Linked DNA regions of Homo sapiens: all the other regions are linked to region 1. The links are contacts of gene promoters, found by promoter capture Hi-C in blood cells and fetal thymus (Javierre and others, 2016). All regions are on one chromosome and are shown on one strand. The core of a region is centred on a gene start or on the middle of the fragment in contact, and the rest is flanking DNA. Distances in the headings are between cores, read along the strand shown.

What was found. The method cuts DNA at HindIII sites, captures the fragments that hold promoters and counts their contacts. A CHiCAGO score of 5 or more calls a contact.
Region 2: a contact is called between a fragment that was not itself captured here and the fragment with the promoter of PRR16 in region 1, in 3 of 17 cell types (monocytes, M1 macrophages and M2 macrophages). The highest score is 7.9, in monocytes.
Region 3: a contact is called between a fragment that was not itself captured here and the fragment with the promoter of PRR16 in region 1, in 2 of 17 cell types (M0 macrophages and M2 macrophages). The highest score is 5.8, in M0 macrophages.
Region 4: a contact is called between a fragment that was not itself captured here and the fragment with the promoter of PRR16 in region 1, in 4 of 17 cell types (M1 macrophages, M2 macrophages, monocytes and 1 more). The highest score is 6.8, in M1 macrophages.
Region 5: a fragment that was not itself captured here is called in contact with the fragment with the promoter of PRR16 in region 1 in 2 of 17 cell types (M2 macrophages and M1 macrophages); the score reaches 7.3 in M2 macrophages.

What each region holds. Positions count from the first base shown.
Region 1 is chr5:120,463,016-120,466,713 of GRCh38, reverse strand. PRR16 (proline rich 16) reads right to left here and starts at 2,414. Exons shown (of 2, transcript NM_001300783.2): 1 at 2,069-2,414. The coding sequence starts at 2,227. RefSeq lists an enhancer at 1,539-2,040 and a silencer at 2,446-2,495. The HindIII fragment of the contact is 2,017 bases long and covers 1,578-3,594 here.
Region 2 is chr5:120,029,720-120,033,820 of GRCh38, reverse strand. No RefSeq gene overlaps it. Among named protein-coding and RNA genes, the nearest start is that of FAM170A, 400 kb to the right of the region's middle. The HindIII fragment of the contact is 1,410 bases long and covers 1,022-2,431 here.
Region 3 is chr5:119,996,367-119,999,956 of GRCh38, reverse strand. No RefSeq gene overlaps it. Among named protein-coding and RNA genes, the nearest start is that of FAM170A, 370 kb to the right of the region's middle. The HindIII fragment of the contact is 2,939 bases long and covers 596-3,534 here.
Region 4 is chr5:120,012,573-120,016,472 of GRCh38, reverse strand. LOC124901053 (a long non-coding RNA gene) reads right to left here. Exons shown (of 2, transcript XR_007058913.1): 2 at 3,625-3,733. Among named protein-coding and RNA genes, the nearest start is that of FAM170A, 380 kb to the right of the region's middle. The HindIII fragment of the contact is 1,255 bases long and covers 913-2,167 here.
Region 5 is chr5:119,961,855-119,965,420 of GRCh38, reverse strand. LOC105379144 (a long non-coding RNA gene) reads right to left here. Exons shown (of 3, transcript XR_948706.2): 2 at 804-899. Among named protein-coding and RNA genes, the nearest start is that of FAM170A, 330 kb to the right of the region's middle. The HindIII fragment of the contact is 2,383 bases long and covers 895-3,277 here.

The DNA of each region.
Region 1 (3,698 bases), core at 1,165-3,664:
AACAACCTTTTTTTTAACCTTAAAAAATCTTCAGTAATGAAGACACAGAAAGTGGTATCAACAGATTTCCTGACTTACATTTTTGTGATTCTAACCAATAACCACAGGGAGGTTGAAGATTTCACTACTTAATCTCTAAATGTCCATAAATAATGATGCAAAGCAAAACCAGGACCATGTGCAGTTTCTTGTCATTTATTCTGTGCAAAAAAAGTGAGTGGACTGACATTAAAACATAAGGAAGTATGGCTCACAGATGCAGAATTCTGTTTAACTACCTTTCTTTTAGTCTCAGCCTCATGAAAACAGTAAATACGTTTCTGTGCCGCTGTAGGTTTTCCACATCGCCCATAGAAACCTCACCAACTATTAAGCACAATTCTGCCGAAAGGAACATGCCCAATTTCATTTTTTAAAACGCCATGTTTCAGATGAAAACACAGTCTACCAAAGATGTCATATAAAAGAATAACAAAGAAAGGGACAGCATTTTTAGAATTGAATTTCAATGCATAACCCCACCATCTGTCAACCAGTTGTGAAGCAATAATCCTACAGAAACCCTGAAAACACGAACAAGTTTTATCCCTGAATCTATGTATACTAACAGCCACTCTCAGGACCTCAGTACTAATTATGTTCTGTCTGTGGAGTAACCTACAGGAACGACATTTACCACTGGCAAACTTAACCCTGGTGACGAATGGCCCATTTTAACAGACTTGCATTAGGTAACAAATGCAGAGTTCAGTTCATAGAGGTAACGGGGGAAGGGGAGGAAGACGAGGGGGCTCTTGAAATTTGGTTTGGAAATTGAATACAGGAGGTTAATCTCTAGAGGCCAGTCATCCAAACAACCCTCAGTCTCCTCCCCGTTGGCTTCAGAAACAGGATTACAATTTTGGACCTAGACTACGCCCCACCCCTTTTCCCGCTGCAGCCACCGCCACCTTCGAAGTTCTAGTCTTAGCTCTCACGCAGCGGAGCTGCGGACTCCCTCACCGAGAACCGCACCAGGACCCCATTCAGTAGTGAGCGGCGCGCTGGGACTCTGCTACCAGCTCCGCGACGCCGCCGGCAGCCAGCCTGGCTCGGGAGACCCCACCCCTCCCAGCCCGGCCCCCGCCCCCGCCCGGAGCCGCCGCCTGAGTTACGCAGCCTCAGCCCTGACACCTTCTCTGCTTCTTTCCATCTGGATCACCTGGGGCTAGGGGCGGGCGGGAGTAGGGCTGAACCGAAGTGGGATAGGAAAAGCGGGGAAGAACCGAAGCAGTCCCAGCTGCAGAGAGCCAGGACGCCAATGGCAAGACCCCGGCCACACATACACTCTCCTGCGCGTCCTGCTTCTCGGGTTCAATGCCAAGTGGCGACAGGGTGGAAGGAAGGAAGCAGAGGTAGGGTGGCGGGAAGGCCCAGAGTTACTGGTAACGACGTTCGGAGGAGAGCAGGGGATGCTTCAGAAACTGAGAAAGTGAGAAAGTCCCAGACCCCCTCCTTAGCCCCAAGGCTGCCAGCAGCCCGGGTCGCCTTCCCTACAGCGAGGCTCGAGAGACAGGGAGGGTAGTCTGAGCCAAGCTTCCTCCAGGCTGCCCTCCCTGATCTGGCCCAGGGCCCAGAACCCGGCCCCTCTTCAGCCCTGACTTGGGGAGGCTGACAGATAGGCAGCGGACTTGCCAAAGGACTCTGGGGAAGCAATAGGGCAGGAGAGGAGCATCTTGCACGCTCCAGCCGGGCTGCTCACGACTTCCTCTGCCGACACACCCCCAGCTAACCCTCTCCCCCGTCGTCACACACACAGATTCAGAGACACGCGTGCGTTCATCCCTCCCACCAGCCCAGGTCCATCGATTAAAACACTAGTTGATTTCTTCCTGATTAAAAAAAAAAATTAAAAAGTGCAACAACAACTCCTCTCAGGACTCCAGGAGCAAAGAAAGTCCGTCTGCAGGCGCCTTTTCTGTAGTTTCCCAGGAGTTTGGAAATCTGGCTGTCCCTGCTGAAAATCGGAAAGGGGACCCCGGAGGGGTCGAAGGGTGCCGAACTCCCTCCCCACCCCTGCGCCTCTCACCTCCTTAAGTTCCTTGGCCACGTCCTTCAGGTCGCCCAGGACTAATTCCAAATCCTCCACGATGATCTTGATCTGTTCCTTCACCTTGGTTTTGGAGGCTGCCGGCGGTCCCTCGGCTGGACAGGACGAGGAGGGGTTCCCCTTGGACTTGGCTGACATTCTTTGGGGGCAAGCGAGGCAGGTCAGGACAGGCGGGCGAGCGGAGGCTGCTGCGTGCCCCCGTCCCTGGCGCTGCTACGGCCGCTGCCGCCCCGGTCCCCCCACATCTTGGGCGCTCCCTGGGCAGCGGCGAGTGGCTGCGCTCCGCGCTCGGCCGGGCGGCCGCACAGTGGTGCTGCCATCAACTCCCGAGACGCGGCGCTCGGCTCGGGGCTGCAGACGGGCGAGCAGCGCGCCTGCGCCTCCTCCCGCCGCCGCCCGGCGCTCTCGCGCACACGCGCTCGCTCCCCGCCCGCGGAGAGGGGCGCCGTGCTGCCGCGCCAGGGTTGACGCTTGCAGTCCCCTCGACGTTGCCCTTCGAGATATCTCCCAGATGCCACCTTGGCATCAAGGTGGGGGAGACAAGTCCGTGTCCTGCCCGCCCCCTCCTCTTGGTTCTGAAATGTCCCCATCATCTCAGCCTGCTTGCTGTATGTCATCTCACAACTAGCCTGGATTCTTTCTGCTTCACTTGCTAGCAGGGACCTGGATCAATTCAGAAAGAACCACAGTGGGATCAGGAGTTGGAGACAGTCTGTAAAGTGGCCCTACAGATTTATCCAAACCCAAATGATGTCCAGAGGCCTTTAATCAATCTCTTGGTGACCTGCGAGTTAAGCAGACTTCTTAACTTCTGCAAGAAAAAAGGGGGGGGGGGGTGCACATAACAGCTAATGGTCATCTATTGAAACCATGAAATTCAACCAGTGTTCTTGAAAGAGGTACCCTAATCCTGCTAATTCCACAAAGCTAATACCGGATTTATTAATTTGAAGTCCCCACACCCCAAATCCTCTCTGATTGTCTCAGTCATCTTGGCTGTATGTCTTATTTGGCCCAACTCTTTTTTTTTTTTTTAACTGTCCTTCCTCTTTTTGTGACCTATGCTGATTTACATTTTGAGTGGAGTGGGGGAGACATCGTATTTGGACCTCGTGAAGGAGCTGAGTAAGAGATTGCCTCCAACTTCTCTTTCATCATTTTTTAAACCTCCATTTCAACTCTTTTGCTACTAAACAAATAGGAAACAACTTTCTGACTGTTCTGTCAAAAAGACCCAAGAAGGGAAGTTAATAGGAAGCCTTCGGTTCACTCTCAGTAGGTGTCTACAATTCTCATTAGCTAGAATTTTAACTTCCTTAGTTGTAAACCCATGGGCTATTAGCTACTGACCCAGCAGGCTGGCTCTACTTTATTTTCTTCACTGCACACTCCTCCAGATCATTCTTTTAATAGGCTTCCCCTTTTCGTCGTGCCTTAGCAAGGCTCTCTGTTTCTTGCTTCTCACACTCTGGGTAGCTCCACTGTGCTACACATAAAGAAAAGCTTGGCAGCTCTCCTCTTCCCAGTTCTGTAGGCTCTTAATCAATCACTCTCTTAATCCTGGACAATTCATCTTTACAAAACCTTTGGAAGTCATATGTGGAATATA
Region 2 (4,101 bases), core at 477-2,976, 430 kb after region 1:
TAGAAAACAAAGTAAGCAAATCAATAAATGAGTAATCTCATAGGAAAACTATAAAAAATTAAAAGTAGGATAAAGGAATATAGAATAATGAAGTATTATTTTAGATGGGATGGTTAGGAGAGGCTCTCTGGATGTGACCATTAGAGAAGGCCATGTGACTTTTCCTTAGAATGCTATTTCAGTGAGTGTGAACAGAAAAGGCAAGGACCCTAAGAAGGGAGTGGACTTGGCATGTTTGTACAACATCAATGAATCCAATATGGTGGAAGCTCAGTGAAGAATGGGGAAAGTGGTGTAAAGGGCATTCATAGAAATGGACAAAAAAGAGAGATCAGATAGGGCCTAGTAGGAAATTTTATTCCAAGTGTATTTGGAAGCAGGAAATGAAGAGCTGAAAGGAAGAAACAAAATGCTATACATTTAAAAAAACATCACTCTGGCTGTACAATGAAAAAAATAGGCTTCATTAGGGCAATAATGGAATTACAGAGTGCAAGTAGGAGAAAAATGCAATAGTGCACACAAAACATAATGGCTCTGAGGTAGAGCCAATTCATATTTTGAGTGTGGAAAAAAATAGGCTGTTGATGAGGTGAGATGTGAGAGAAAGAGATGAATTAAAGATGATTCCATGGTTTTTGCCTTGAGCAACTGGATATATGGTGATGCTGTTTCAGAGTTGGGGAAATCTATAGGAAAAGCATATTTAGGGAATGAAATCAAAAGATCGATTTCCAATTTATTAATCTTGAGATGTCAATTAAAGATCAATTGGAGATTTTCAGTGATCAGGTGGATATTCTAATCTGGAATTCAACAAACAGTTGAGAGCTGGAAATACACATTTTGAAGTCATCAGCATATAGGGGGCTATGTTTTATAATTGGAGTATTTGCATCCTTAGTGGATGTTGGAAATTTGTGGAGAAGTTTTAGGATCTTAAACTATTTAAAGAGTGCTCCTGAAATTTAGTGGATGACAAGGATTACTCGACTTTGAAATGCCATATAAGCAGAAAGCTTGTTTGTAATTATTTGCTCCTAGATCCAAATCATAATTAGATATTGATATAGTTTGGCTGTGTTCCCATCCAAATCTCATCTTGAATGGTAGCTCCCATAATTCCCACGTCATGAGAAGGACCCAGTGTGAGGTAATTGAATCGTGGGGTGGGTGATTCCTGTGCTGTTCTCATGATAGTAAATAAGTCTCACAAGACCTGATGGTTTTATAAAGCGGAGATCCCCTGCACATGCTCTCTGGCCTGCTGCCATGTAAGATGTGACTTTGCTCCTCTTTTGCCTTCCACCATGATGGTGAGGCCTCCCCAGCCATATGGAACTATGAGTCAATTAAACCTCTTTTTTTATAAATTACCCAGTCTCAGATATGTCTTTATGAGCAGTGTGAGAACAGACTAATACACTTATATACACGAAAAATTTTTGTACAGGTTTACTGCATATTTATTTTCTTCCATAAATGCAACTACTATGAATATCAACAGAAGATTAAATTTTATTTTATTCAGCAAATTACCATTGATCCCAATTTTGGAAAACCATGTCACCAATAGCAGGTAACACATGGTTTTGAGCTAACAGCACAACAGACTTTATTAGCTTGCATTTATTAGAATGGGTACAAGCATCTGAATATTTTATTATGTCCTCTAATATAATTGTCCTTGAGAATTTACAATTGAATCATATAATTTTATTATATATTTTGGTTTTTTCTCAACTTCATTTAAGAATCAGAGCTTCTTTTGAAAGTACCTATATAGATAGATCAAATTATCCATGACCTTAATTTCAGAATGTTAAAGAGAGAGTCACAAAATATTGACTATACGAAGGGGCATTGGGCCTAACACAATAGACCTACAGAGCAAGAAGAGAAATGAGAAAAGAAGTGAGGACAAAGCTCAGAGGCAATTCAACATTAGAGGTCAAGAAGATGAAGTGGAACCAGTAAAGAAGTTTAAAAAGAAGTGGCCACTGGGCTATGGAGAAAAACAGGAAAATATGATATCCTAAAAACCAAGCAGAGAACATTTTTAAAGCAGAGAGAATAATCAAACTTGTCATGGGTCAAGTTAGACAAGCTAGACAAAAACTTGTCATGGGTCAGGTTTGCTCATGGATCAAATTAAATGAGGACTGAGAGCTAATCACTGGATTTGGCAAAGTGAAGCTCATTGAATCTTTGAAATAGTTACAGTGGACTGGTAGAGACAAAAGCCTGATTTAGATTAAATAAAAAGAGAACGTGAACTTCCAGGTATGGACAAGATGAAGTAACAGAAACTGTATTTATCCTCCCACCTGAAACAATAAATAAGTGAGCAAAATATGTAGAAAGGGGGCAGTACAGGGTTTATTTGTTTGTTATATACTACAAGACTTTTCACAGGCATATTGAGGAAGCTTATGTAAACTCAGCATGATCTTGGTCACAGAAGAGTTAGGCCAGAAAAATGCAAGTTACTTATTATTTTCTGATGCAGGAGAAAGCCTTTGTGAACTATGAGATTCACATATTATTTTCTCTTCATCAGCATAAAAGAAAAAACAACAGAAGCAAAGTTGCTTAATATCCAAACGCTATGGGCAACTCCAAAGAGAAATCAAAGAAGAAAAGAATATGCTAGATACTTCATCTTTGTAATATCCAAGAAACTCTAACAAAGTGTCAAGAAAACTTCAAGATAAATGAATTTACTTAAACCATGAGAAAGTCATGATTACATTAAGCAGTGATTTAAAACAGTTGAAAAGTTTACTCTAGGACATATAGTATCCCTTAAAATGTATCTTTTAAATGCTAGCTATTTTTATATTTGGCTATTTAAATAGAGCTCGTGTTTCAAAGAGAAAACATATACCTGTGTTGGAAAACACATTAACTGCAGACATTCCACACCTCTGGAACCCACCTACCAAGTAATTTGGGACACTGGATAGACTCCATCCTGAGACAGAGTCAACATGTTCCCATCACAGCTGTGGTCTCCTTCCTACCTGGTAATAAGTACAGCTGTTTAAAACCAGTAGTCATAGCCTGAACACCACCAACTTACCCAAATTTTAGGGTGGCAATTTACCTAAATTGCAGACCATGGTCCTCCAAGTAAATAAACAGCCTCTGGAGCATAATTTTGTAATGTAAATACAGAAAATGACAGCAAATGGCACTAGTAATCTAGGGGGGGTTACATAATTTGCAAGCATAATGAGTACCTCCCGAGAATAAATCCTAGTAAGGGAGCCATGATCTTCTAATAACCAGGTTGCAACCTCTTGGAAAAGGTGTGCCAAACCATTCTTTCTGCTCTATGTGGGACTGCAAGCATGTTAGGACTCTGCTGAAGCACTGACCATTCTGTTTAGACACAAATACAAATCATATAAAAATTTTGAGAATGAGTAAGCAATAGAATGATGGTAAATGAGAGTAAAGGAGTTGAGACTTAACCAAGGAACAAAGCTGGATTATTCACACCCATGACAAAGACTGTGCCCAAAACTGGTCAGTGGTGCTAATGTGTTAAGGATTAAAGAATATATTCTCAGAGTGACTTTAGCAAGATAATGGAAGATTCCCAGCTCATGTTCTCCCCACACGAATGACAAACTACAGCCATCAGAGGCAAAAGTGCCTGTGTGGGAGCTTTTGAATCCAGGTAGATTGTGAAACCCTCCTGAAGCCCAGTACTGAGGACAGCCATATGGAGAAGGCAGACCCATACACGAGTGGCAGGCTTGCTGAGCACAGTTCTGGCTGCAGAGCAAAAGTAGTCCCACCTCCCTCTGGACTCAGCTTCAACCCTACTTGGCTGTAGTTTCTAAATGAGCTCCTTCCACCATTGCAATTCATGTCCCCTAATAACAGGCCCTCCAACCTCAGACACAATCCAGGATTCTGAAGCAGGTCCTCACTACCATAGTCCAGAGTCAGTCCTGCCAACCCAGGAAACTGGTGGGAAACACACCTCTTCATGTCCCCAGTAATAAGCCTGGGGACCTTTACCTCACTACAGATGCTGAAGCAGCCCTGTGCCTCAGCTCCAGCTCTACTTGATCATATCCTAGATTTAGT
Region 3 (3,590 bases), core at 816-3,315, 470 kb after region 1:
GACACAGAGCTATCTCCTGCCTCTCTCTCTTTCTCCCTTTTCCTCACCCCTACATTCCCCCAAAGAAAGGAAATTACCTACTCTGACAAAAGCAAACAGAACTCCATCTACAGTTTACGATGGATAACGTGTTCTAAAATACTATTCCATTTTAAAATAAAAATTTTAAATTTTCTGATTTCCTGGGAAATGAAGTTGACATTTGATACCATTTCAAACAGAAATGTAAATATTGTAATAGCAGGATATTTTAAATGTCTGTTTGACAAACTGGAACACCATCCTAATTAAAAGCAGTCTCTATAGAAAGGCATGCTAAACACACAATAATTATAATTTTAACAAGACATTAACATTTTCTCCAAACTCCAAAGGTGATTTAGGTAATGTTACATAACATACGTGCCAGGAAATTGTCAAATTAAACTAAGCAGGGCTTGCCTCAGATAAAAAAAAAGCAACATGGGCAAGTTTATCCTTCATTCCAGGACTCTCTCCTCACTTTTAGACTATTCCCGCAGCTCAGATGGATTGCCATCTAAAGCAGATGGTCGTATTTATTTATTCAATTTGTTTCTCCTCACCAACAAAAGCTTATCTCTGCCATGTACCTGCTTTACTCAACCCTCTGCTCCCTGATTCCCACAGCATTGCACAGAAATTCACCTTCTCTATTCCTCTACTTCATGGTCCAAAGTATTTGCTAGCTAGCCTTGTAAATCATTCCTGCTTAGTATGCTAATTAGGGGAACTAGATGACCACTCCATGCATGTGTTAACTGCAGCCTTCTGAGGGCAATAGTACGGCTTTTTGTCTAATGCCTCAGTTACAGAAAAGTTATTCCTGAACTTCCTCTGTGAACCTACAGCTCCTGTGCACACCTTTGTAACACACATTACTTGATAGTGTAATTATTTCTTTAAATCTTTGGCTAGATGTAGTCCAATACCTCATACATTATAAATGCTTAGTAAAGGATTACTGAACTGAACTGTCAAATTGAAAACTGTTAAATTGGAACCATTTCAGCCAAAAACCAGAAATTGCATTTCAGAGGGAGTTCTTTCTTTCAGGAAAGACTAAACTAATAAGAGAAATAACAGGCAGTGAGGTCAAGGATCTGAAGCCTTTCCCAGCTCATGAAAAAAATCCCCTCTGTTGATAGCAGGTAGATTTAAAACAGCCTCTTAGGTGAAACAAGTGTACTCTCTGGGAGGAGCATGCTTTAACTGGAATTTGCCTAATGTCCAACCTTGTGACAGTCCCAGAAAGAATCACCGTCAAAGGAAGAGAACCTGTGCAATTTGCTGTTGATCCTTCACTTTTATCTAGTTACTTTTTGTTTTTAAATTCAGGCAATAAAAAAGCAACTTTGCGCCAAAAATTTTCAGCAAAAAAGTACAATATATATAAACATCAATCTCCTGCTGGAGCTTAAAACCTCAATCTATTTAATATTTAATATCTTGGTCCTACAAAAAGTAAAATGACTCTAGAAAATGAGGGAGAAAGAATAAATAGTCCTTGGGGGTAAACTATAGAGAAGAGGTTGACACCATAGCATGTTACAGTGGGGACTACATTTTAATAGTTTCAAACGTGTAAAGCAGTTTATATTATAGTTCTCTAGCACTTAAAAGAATCCAAAAGTGTCTTTATAGCAGCATGATTTATAGTCCTTTGGGTATATACCCAGTAATGGGATGGCTGGGTCAAATGGTATTTCCAGTTCTAGATCCCTGAGGAATCGCCACACTGACTTCCACAATGGTTGAACTAGTTTACAGTCCCACCAACAGCGTAAAAGTGTTCCTATTTCTCCACATCCTCTCCAGCACCTGTTGTGTCCAACAATGAGAGACTGGATTAAGAAAATGTGGCACATATACACCATGGAATACTATGCAGCCATAAAAAATGATGAGTTCATGTCCTTTGTAGGGACATGGATGAAATTGGAAATCATCATTCTCAGTAAACTATCGCAAGAACAAAAAACCAAACACCGCATATTCTCACTCATAGGTGGGAATTGAACAATGAGATCACATGGACACAGGAAGGGGAATATCACACTCTGGGGACTGTTGTGGGCGGGGGAGGGGGGAGGGATAGCATCGGGAGATATACCTAATGCTAGATGACGAGTTAGTGGGTGCAGCCCACCAGCATGGCACATGTATACATATGTAACTAACCTGCACAATGTGCACATGTACCCTAAAACTTAAAGTATAATAATAATAAAAAAAAGAATCTAAAAGTGAAAGAGCACCAGGCTGCAGGCAGAAAACCTGACTTCCAGACCCAACATCAGCATACACTGTGCCCCTGAGCAAAGAACTTAATGGCACCTCTGGGTTTTTACCTAAAAACCAAGAGTATTGAACTTGATGTGATGTTAAGTTTCTTTCAAGGCATATTACTCAGTAATTCCACATTTGATTTGTTCTTTATGGGAAATGAAACTAATAGGGGGTACAATTGACCATAAACTGCATTAGTATGTATCATTTTATAGGGGTTCCTGTATTGCCCTGATCAGATAAGACCGAAGTCTTTATTCTCACAGCTGGTGTTCTGAATGGCTCACAGCTGAGTCCCTCTCAATGAATTACCTGCAGAAATCTGACTGGCAACTTATTTCCAAGAAACAGCCTCCATCTGCTGATCACTTTAGAGATACAGAGGCTGGGCCCTCTTGCCTCAATTTTGAACAATGCTGAAAGACCATCCTAGTTGCAAAGTATCCTAAGGATTCCACTGAAGTTTGCTGCAACTGTAATAGAGGTCAACTCCTCCCTCAGCCCAATTCTGCTTCCCTGCCTCCATTCTAACTGTTGCATCCAAAAGTGTTGCCCAATATCCTCCCATCTCCAACTCAGGTAATTTCCCGGGGAATCCAACTTCAGATAGCTGGTACTACATATGGTCCCAGGCAGCAAATTATAGAATGGAATTTTGGAGAGCTGATAATAAGCATCCCTTTGCTGGTGATAACTGTAAGACTGATCATTCCTGGCATGCGATAGTGGTGAAATTAATAAAACTTTTACCTGTGGTAAATTGAGAGAAGACTTCAGTGTGTCAGAAAACACTAGGAGGTTCAGTATCTTAGATATTTGAAAGGCTTAGGGGAAAAAGTAGTTATAAGAACTATAGAATCAGATAGCTGTTGCTGGCTACCACTGATGCATTGCAGGAATTTAATGGCACTGAGGGGTATTAATCTCAAATTTAAGGCAAAGTATAAAAGACCAAGGGCCTCCTTGGAGGCATATAAAGAGATTCTCATCTACTACAGCCAGATAGCAGAAGTAGCTTAAGATCAGACTCCACTCTAAATGTATAAGAAAACCAGAGGTCCAGAGAAAAGAAGTTGAATTCTCTACCCCAGCTGTTATGCCACCAAAGTGAGACCCCAAGACTCAGAATGGGGACATGTGGGTTGAGATACTCAAGAGTCTTGAACCCTCAGATCCTACTCAACGCTGTAGCTCTGCACAAGTGGTTCACTCTCCTCCCATAAAGCTTGGTATTCTGCCCTTACTTGAAGATGCTGCAAGGCCTTGAAAAAGAACACATGCCC
Region 4 (3,900 bases), core at 291-2,790, 450 kb after region 1:
CTCCTTTAGCTCTTATCTAGGCTCTTTGTCTGAATCTAGAAACCAAATTAACACCAGGCAGATTAATAAGAGAAAAACATACAAAGTTTATTAGTTTTACATGTACATGGGCATCTTCACAAGAGAGTGAAGTCTGGAGTAGCCAAAGCAAGATGCTTTTATACTTCTTAGACAAAGAATGATAAATTTGAGAAGAAATGACAGGATAAATGGTATCTAACTAGAAGCGGTAAATTTCTAGGGTAGTCACAAGGAGATACACAGAAGGGTATAAAACTCCTGGAAGATAAGGGGTACTTTGGAAAGTATATTTATCCAGGTCCATTGTAGCCCCCCAGTTCCCAGTCTCTTATGATAAGGGCTATTTTCTTGCCCTGGTTCTGTGAGGGTACACCTCCCAGAGGAATCTTTATGGCTTGCTGTGTGGAAGAAAAGATAGGTCATCTACTTGTTTCTGTAACTACAATTTTTCCAAGGTTTTCAACTCAAAATAATCAATTTACCAATTATCATGCATTGAGATGGCATATCCTTCACTCCTTTAAAATTCTGATTCATTATACCCCATGTCAAATGCATCCTTCTTAAACAAGCGTATTCTGTCACTACACTTCTCAAAATTATTATGTTTCACCATATTCCTATTCATCAACACAAACCTCTGTCTCACTTTTAGGGTTTCCTGTAATCCAGCTTGTGAAATTTAGGCATCATTCTGGACTTCTGTCTTATTATTGCCACCCCTGCCTAGAAATTTAACGTCTAATCTATCACCAAGTCCTGTCCGTTCAACTGCCAAGTTCAAGAAACTAATGTATTTCTCATAGACTACAGCAAGCCTATATTATTTCCTGGTTTTTGCTTATAGAACACCACAGTGATTAGGAGCACAAACTGCCTCAGTTCAAAGCTTAGACTTTTCATTTATTAATTGTGTAAATCTGGACAAAATAATTAACCTCCTAGTGCCCTTCTATTTTTCTCTCTAAATTGAGAGGACAATAATGGTACCTACTTCATGGGACTGTTATAAGGATTAATGGGTCAGCACTTTCTGAGTACATAGAATATTATGTGATACATGGTAAGTGCTGTCATGTATGGTATGGTAGGTAGCTTGATGATGATGATGGTGGGGGTGGTGGTTATGAAAAACATTATCTCCTAATTTCCTACACATAAAAACAAAGGAAACTTTTAAAAACATAAATTATGTGTGGTCATATTTGGTCTCCAAAAATTCCCATTCATTTCACTTAAAACAAATTTTAAATTCTCTCCTCTGCTTCTCAATATCCTACATGATCTAGTTCCTGAATGCCTTTTTAGTTCACCTTGAACCATGTGTCCCCTTCTTACTTTACTCCAGGCTCTCAACTTCTGTTAGTTTGTAGAACCCATCAAATTCTTTGATACCTTGTCCCTACCCACTGCTTTCCTTATCTGGCTCTTTTTCTTTCTTTAGGTCTTGGTTCAAAGTCAACTCCTTGGAGGTGCTTTCCCCACCCTACCTAAAATGTCCTTCACCTCCAATGCTGACTGCTGCAGCATCTAGTTGTTGTTGATATTGTTACAATGACTTACCACAAACTTGCTTCCGTTGGTTCTTTGCTTACTGGGTTTTTGTTTTGTTTTGTTTGCTGAACCCAACTAGAATATAAGCTGCATGAGGAAAGGGATCACATCTATCTTGTCCACCATTGACTCACCAGCACTGGGGAGGCTGGTATGCATGTCATTGCTATTTGTGGAATGTTATTCTATCAACGGTTTTATTTTACTCACCTAAATATTTGTTCCTACTCCCAGATTCTTCTCCTCCACTGCGTTCAGGCCATTTACATCAATGTAAACTATCTCCATCTGTGATATTTCACTCAGCCCCCTTGATAAAATAGTCAACCCTTCTATCTTGGTCTACCAAAATTATGATGAAGATTCACCTCCTCCAAGACTTCAGTGAAAACGCTTGCCCTCACTAATCTTTCATGCCTTAGCATTTCTATCTCACTTAAAATTTCTCCCACAAACTGTTAATCCTTATATATAGAACAATATTCTAATTTCTTAATGCATATTACCATCATCTTCTCAACTAAACCCTAAGTACGTATTTTTGTGTTTTTATGTATTTATTCCTAGAGTGTACAATGTCAAAAGAGAAGCTTAATAAAAATTTAGAATTAGATAATTTTATATTGGAGGAAGCTAAGACCTGTATGTACATACTAAACTTCTGAATACCCCAGCAAGACTTTTATCTCAACACCTTAACATCTTTTTTAAAGTAAATTTATTGCTCTAGCAAAATATATATATTTTCTTTATATTATATATATATTCTTTATATTATATATATTCTTTATATTATATATATTATATATATATATATATTCTTTTGTGAATTTTGTAAGAATTTCGTTTTGCTTGGGTGGTGATGACACCTAAGCTTCCCAAAGTACTCCAGACTCTAAAAATTGCAGGAACAAAACATACTGGAGACCATATGGAAAAAGTTCTATAAGAATGCTGTCAGTTAGCGTCTGCTTCTATCAAAATTGATATCGAAACTGATATCCCGAAGCTTTTTAATTCTTCTCTAAGGCGACTGTGTAAAGGATTGCTTAATCATAGAATACCATTAGAAAGTGTTTTGCTCAGATTTGAATTGATGAATTATTTTTAAAAGTTCAATGCTAACTCATATTTGGTTCTCATTTAATTCAAGTTAGATAACTTCTTTTATCAAGGCCACAGTTTCAGTACCAACGCATACAATTCTGAATATCAGTGCTGTTGACTCATGTTTCTTTGTCAAATGTGAATTCAGAGCTCAAGGGTAAGAGTAACTTTTTTATAAACCTTCTTAATCCTTCAGAGCCAAAAGAAGACTTAATTTGTGACCAGGGCTCTTTCCCCAACTCTTCATATCATCATGAAGGGCTGCATAGATTTATCATCTCCTGTGTACCAATTTTGCTCAAGAGGTCCTCTTATCCTCATTCACATTCAAGAAAAAATAATGGGCAGCCAGCTCTGTGCCAGGCATTGGTCTGTACACTCAGGACATTGATGCAAACACAGGCAAGGTGCATGTTCTTCAGGAGGCTTCATTGCATAATTCTGGCAATCTTAGTTTATTTGTCTCTCATTGATAGAGGCATTCTGTGATATTGTAGAATACATATTTGGTCTTTGACCCCATTTTTCTGACATACAATTCCTAAAATTCTTAGAATCTCCAGTGATATTTTTATGTATGTTAATGTGTGTAAATGGTGGCCGGCAGCCTCTAGGTAGCTTCAGGATAGAGGCTTGTCCCTGAAAAAATCCAAGGTATAATTAGTGGGTTGGAACTTTTAGCCCCACCCCACAAAATCTAGGTTGAAGCGAGAGACTGAGGGTTAAATTGATCACCAATGGTCAGTGGTTTGATCAGTCATGCCTTTGTGATAAATCCTTCATAAAAACCCAAAGAAGACAGGGTTGGGAGAGCTTCTGGATAGCCAAACACATGAAGTTTCCTGAAGAGTAGCACCCCTGGGAAGAGCATGGAAGCTCTATGCCACTTCCTGTCCCTCACCCTATGCATCTGTCAACCTGAAATAATTAAAAGGATCAGAATCCAGCTTAGAAGAATTTATTCAAGTGCAAATCTGAGAATAGCCATTCAGGTAGCAAATACTCCAAAGGAATGGGGTCAGTGCTCCAAAGTTGCAAAGTTAAGATCTTGCTTATATAGGCAGAAAACAAAGAAATTTATCCAGATTACTATACTACATTTTTCATACAAGCGTGATTTATAGTTACAGCAATTTGATTAGTTACAGCTGTTTTCCTTTTCCAATTTAAAAGAGTATATTTAACATTCCATCTTAAACAATGTGAAAGTCATAAGGT
Region 5 (3,566 bases), core at 837-3,336, 500 kb after region 1:
TTAGGGTTTCTAGTCCTAAATGATATGCAAAATAAGAAAAAAAAGTCTTCCTATATAACTACAAGGTTGCAGATCCCTAAATTAGAATAGAAGCAGAGAAGAGGGAAAGGCAGAAACCAATCTAGAGTAATGAATAACTTATAGGACTCTGTGAATAACCATATGGGAGAGAGAATTAAAGGCAAGGATTAAGCTGGATTCCAAGTTCTCAGGTCTGAGTGCCTGAGGTAAAACAGGATGTTTGAGTGGCAAAACAGTCAGAATAGAAGGACAGCTGGAGAGGGGGAAGGTAGTGTGGCATTTTGGATGTACTTATGGAAGAGATGTCTCTACTTGTAGCAGGAATTTAAAAATGAGACCTAGAACTCAGTTTTGATGTATACTTGGTGACATGATAAAAACATGAAGAAAGAAGTGGAAAAAGAAGAGCAAAAAGCCAAGAACAGAATTTTAGAAATCATCCAGATGTGAAGTCAACAGAACATGATGAAATCAAAATAAGAACATAAATAAGGAGCAGCCAGAAAGTTAAGAAGAGAAACACCACATAATCTAGAACCTTTCAGTCTTATCATACATTACTTCAAAATAAAGACCACGAATTATCCTCTGCTCTAGCAAATTTTCTCCCTAAAGGCACTTCTTTGGCCATTTGTTAGTGGTCATGAAAGTGGGGTTAGCTTTAGAAAATTCTTTTCAAAATATGAAGCACGGAATCTTTATAGTACATACAAGGGTATGTTTTTAATTATGAAATGAAAATATAAAAGAAAATCTAATGAAATGCACTATAATTCACTTACATTTTACTGAGAAAAATGTACATGTGGCTTCTCTCCAGCAGATTTCACTGCTCCCGATAGTCACACTGGGGTAAATTGCCACCAGCAAGCTTTATACTTCAAAACAATCAAAATGAAAGAACATATGAGGTTCTACATAACAAATATAGGTCTGCATTTAAAGCCATTGTGTTTTATATTTTTAGTCATAAGCACAGGTCTCTTTATATTAATGTTGAAAGGACCTACAAATAGTTCATAAATTTAGGCCTGTAAAACTGCATACCTCCTACTGATACACAATACTGCTAGTTTTTATAAGCCTTCTCTGAAGCAGAGTCCTCAACTCCAAAGGCCACAAAAGGATGTTGACTAGGACTGGCCTATGCCTAAGGGACAAATAGTTCAAGTGAAGTCAAATATTAGCACTAAGAATTGAAATGTAACCTAACCAACCTACAAATCAAAGTTTTGTGATAATTTATTTTTCTTAAATGAGGCGCAATAGGATTTCAGTATCAGACATTGTCAAAATTCCAGCTCTGCTTCTTAATAGCTATGTGATCTTGAAAATGTTAGGAGATCTCGGTTTCCATATATGAGAAATGGATGGTTGTGTATAACTTGCAGGGTCATTGGGAAGGTTAAAAAAGATAGCTCATAGGTGGGAATTGAACAATGAGATCACATGGACACAGGAAGGGGAATATCACACTCTGGGGACTGTGGTGGGGTGGGGGGAGGGGGGAGGGATAGCATTGGGAGATATACCTAATGCTAGATGACGAGTTAGTGGGTGCAGCGCACCAGCATGGCACATGTATACATATGTAACTAACCTGCACAATGTGCACATGTACCCTAAAAACTTAAAGTATAATAAAAAAAAAAAGAAAAGTAAAAAAAAAAAAAAAAAATCAAAAATGAAAAAAAAAAAAAGATAGCATATATAAATTGCCTACAACAGAGCCTAGTCCATATATCTGTGCAATGTAATTGGGTAGACTAGTTTTAAAGAATAACATTAATTTTGTTTGATCTCTTTTTCTCTCCCACAATTTTTTCTACTTGTATTAACAAGAAAGCAGCATTTTTGTAATCTGACATTTTCTAGATTCCATATGATTAATGCAATTTTCAGCAAACTTTATGGTTAATTTCTCTAGCTTTTATGACCATCTATGATTAATGCTTTCTTAGCTAGTAATAAATGTGATAATGTTATGAGTTCTGTAACTTGAAGCATTATAAGTAGAACAAAATGAGATGATTTATGCAATTAAAGACAGGTAGGACAGCCCACACTTGACCCCCATTCAAAAAATATAAAATAATTTAAAATAGGAGTGCAGGCCTGTTTAGAAGAGAAAAACACATCATGCAAAAAAAAGAAACTGTGCTTTAAAAAGGTTGTCTGAAACTTTTTACAAAATACAGCATGCTCAGTAACAACATGGCTTTTTTTAGTCAGATTTGCTTCAAGTGAGTCATCGAAGTTCTCTGTGCCTCAATTTCCTTTTCTGTTAAATAATAATGGCAATATTTAAAGATTAAATGATTAATATATAAGCTATATAACTGTCAAGAGTAGTTATTTCTCAACAGTTTGTTGTTATTCTTTCGAGATTCATCCGGGTCCTGAGAACAAACAGAAAAAACTCAGCTAAGGATATGAAGAGAATTTAATGTTGGGGCTATTTTCAGAGGTGTAGGGACCAATAAGACCCAGGACTGTCAACAATCAGAAGCCATCATTACAACAGGATATGTAGAGGTAAGCAAGGGGAAGACAATTCTAGCCAACCTGGTGGTCATAAAGGGTTGCAGAACTACAGTACTCAAAGGGAAGGGGAGAAATATTTCTATTTTCAACTGACTAAAGCCAACAGAAAGCTAGAGGGCAAAGAACTGTACAGCCAAGGTGCTGGAGTCCATGGGAATCATCCTCCATGGACAGGCTCTCCAAGGGCAGAGAAGAGCAGAGAATCAATCGGGGGGTTGGAAGGTTAAACAGAGTCTATCCAACCTAAATTATAATTGAATAATTAAATCGAACCCTGTATTCCTCATAGTTACACTTAGGCCAGACCCTTTATTTTGCTCACTGGACTCCATTCTCAGTTCTCCATCTATTCCAAGTCCTTTTTTTGGCAGGGGACAGACTTAGTGTGATAGCTGTGCCACACCTGTTATCTTCTGGGTTCTTGATCAGTGAAGGGTAAGCCTTCATTTTGAGGCATTTCTGCTTCTCTTTTACTGCTCCAATTCATAGTCAAAAGGAATACAATTCTTGATGATTAAAAAGTACGATAAGTCTGATAAATCTGTTGTCAGTTTGTTCATGCAAAAGATAGAGTGTAAAAATCTAATGAGCCTTTCAACATTTTTGTGACTGCTTGGCAAACAAAGCAATGGCTCATTTTGGTTTTGCTTATTTACTATACTCTCCTCTACAGAATGATTCATAATGCCAACATTTACCTTTAGCCAAAGCTTTTACATTCAATCAGCAAACCACTTAAATACATCAGCCTGAATCTTGATATCAGTAATCTGGGTGAATTGGTATAAATTTTTGTTTCAGGTGTTTAAATTATTAATTTATAACAAGAGGAATTTTAAAAGAGACCAAATCTACTCTACTGTTTGGGGGGGTGTGTGTACATATAATAGTTAAAATGAAAAAGCATTTTGTGATTTTGTTACAATCTTCTCAATAACCTCTCAAATTAGGTATTTAGAGACAAATTGTGAAAGACTTAGAAATGGAACAGAAAAGGCTTG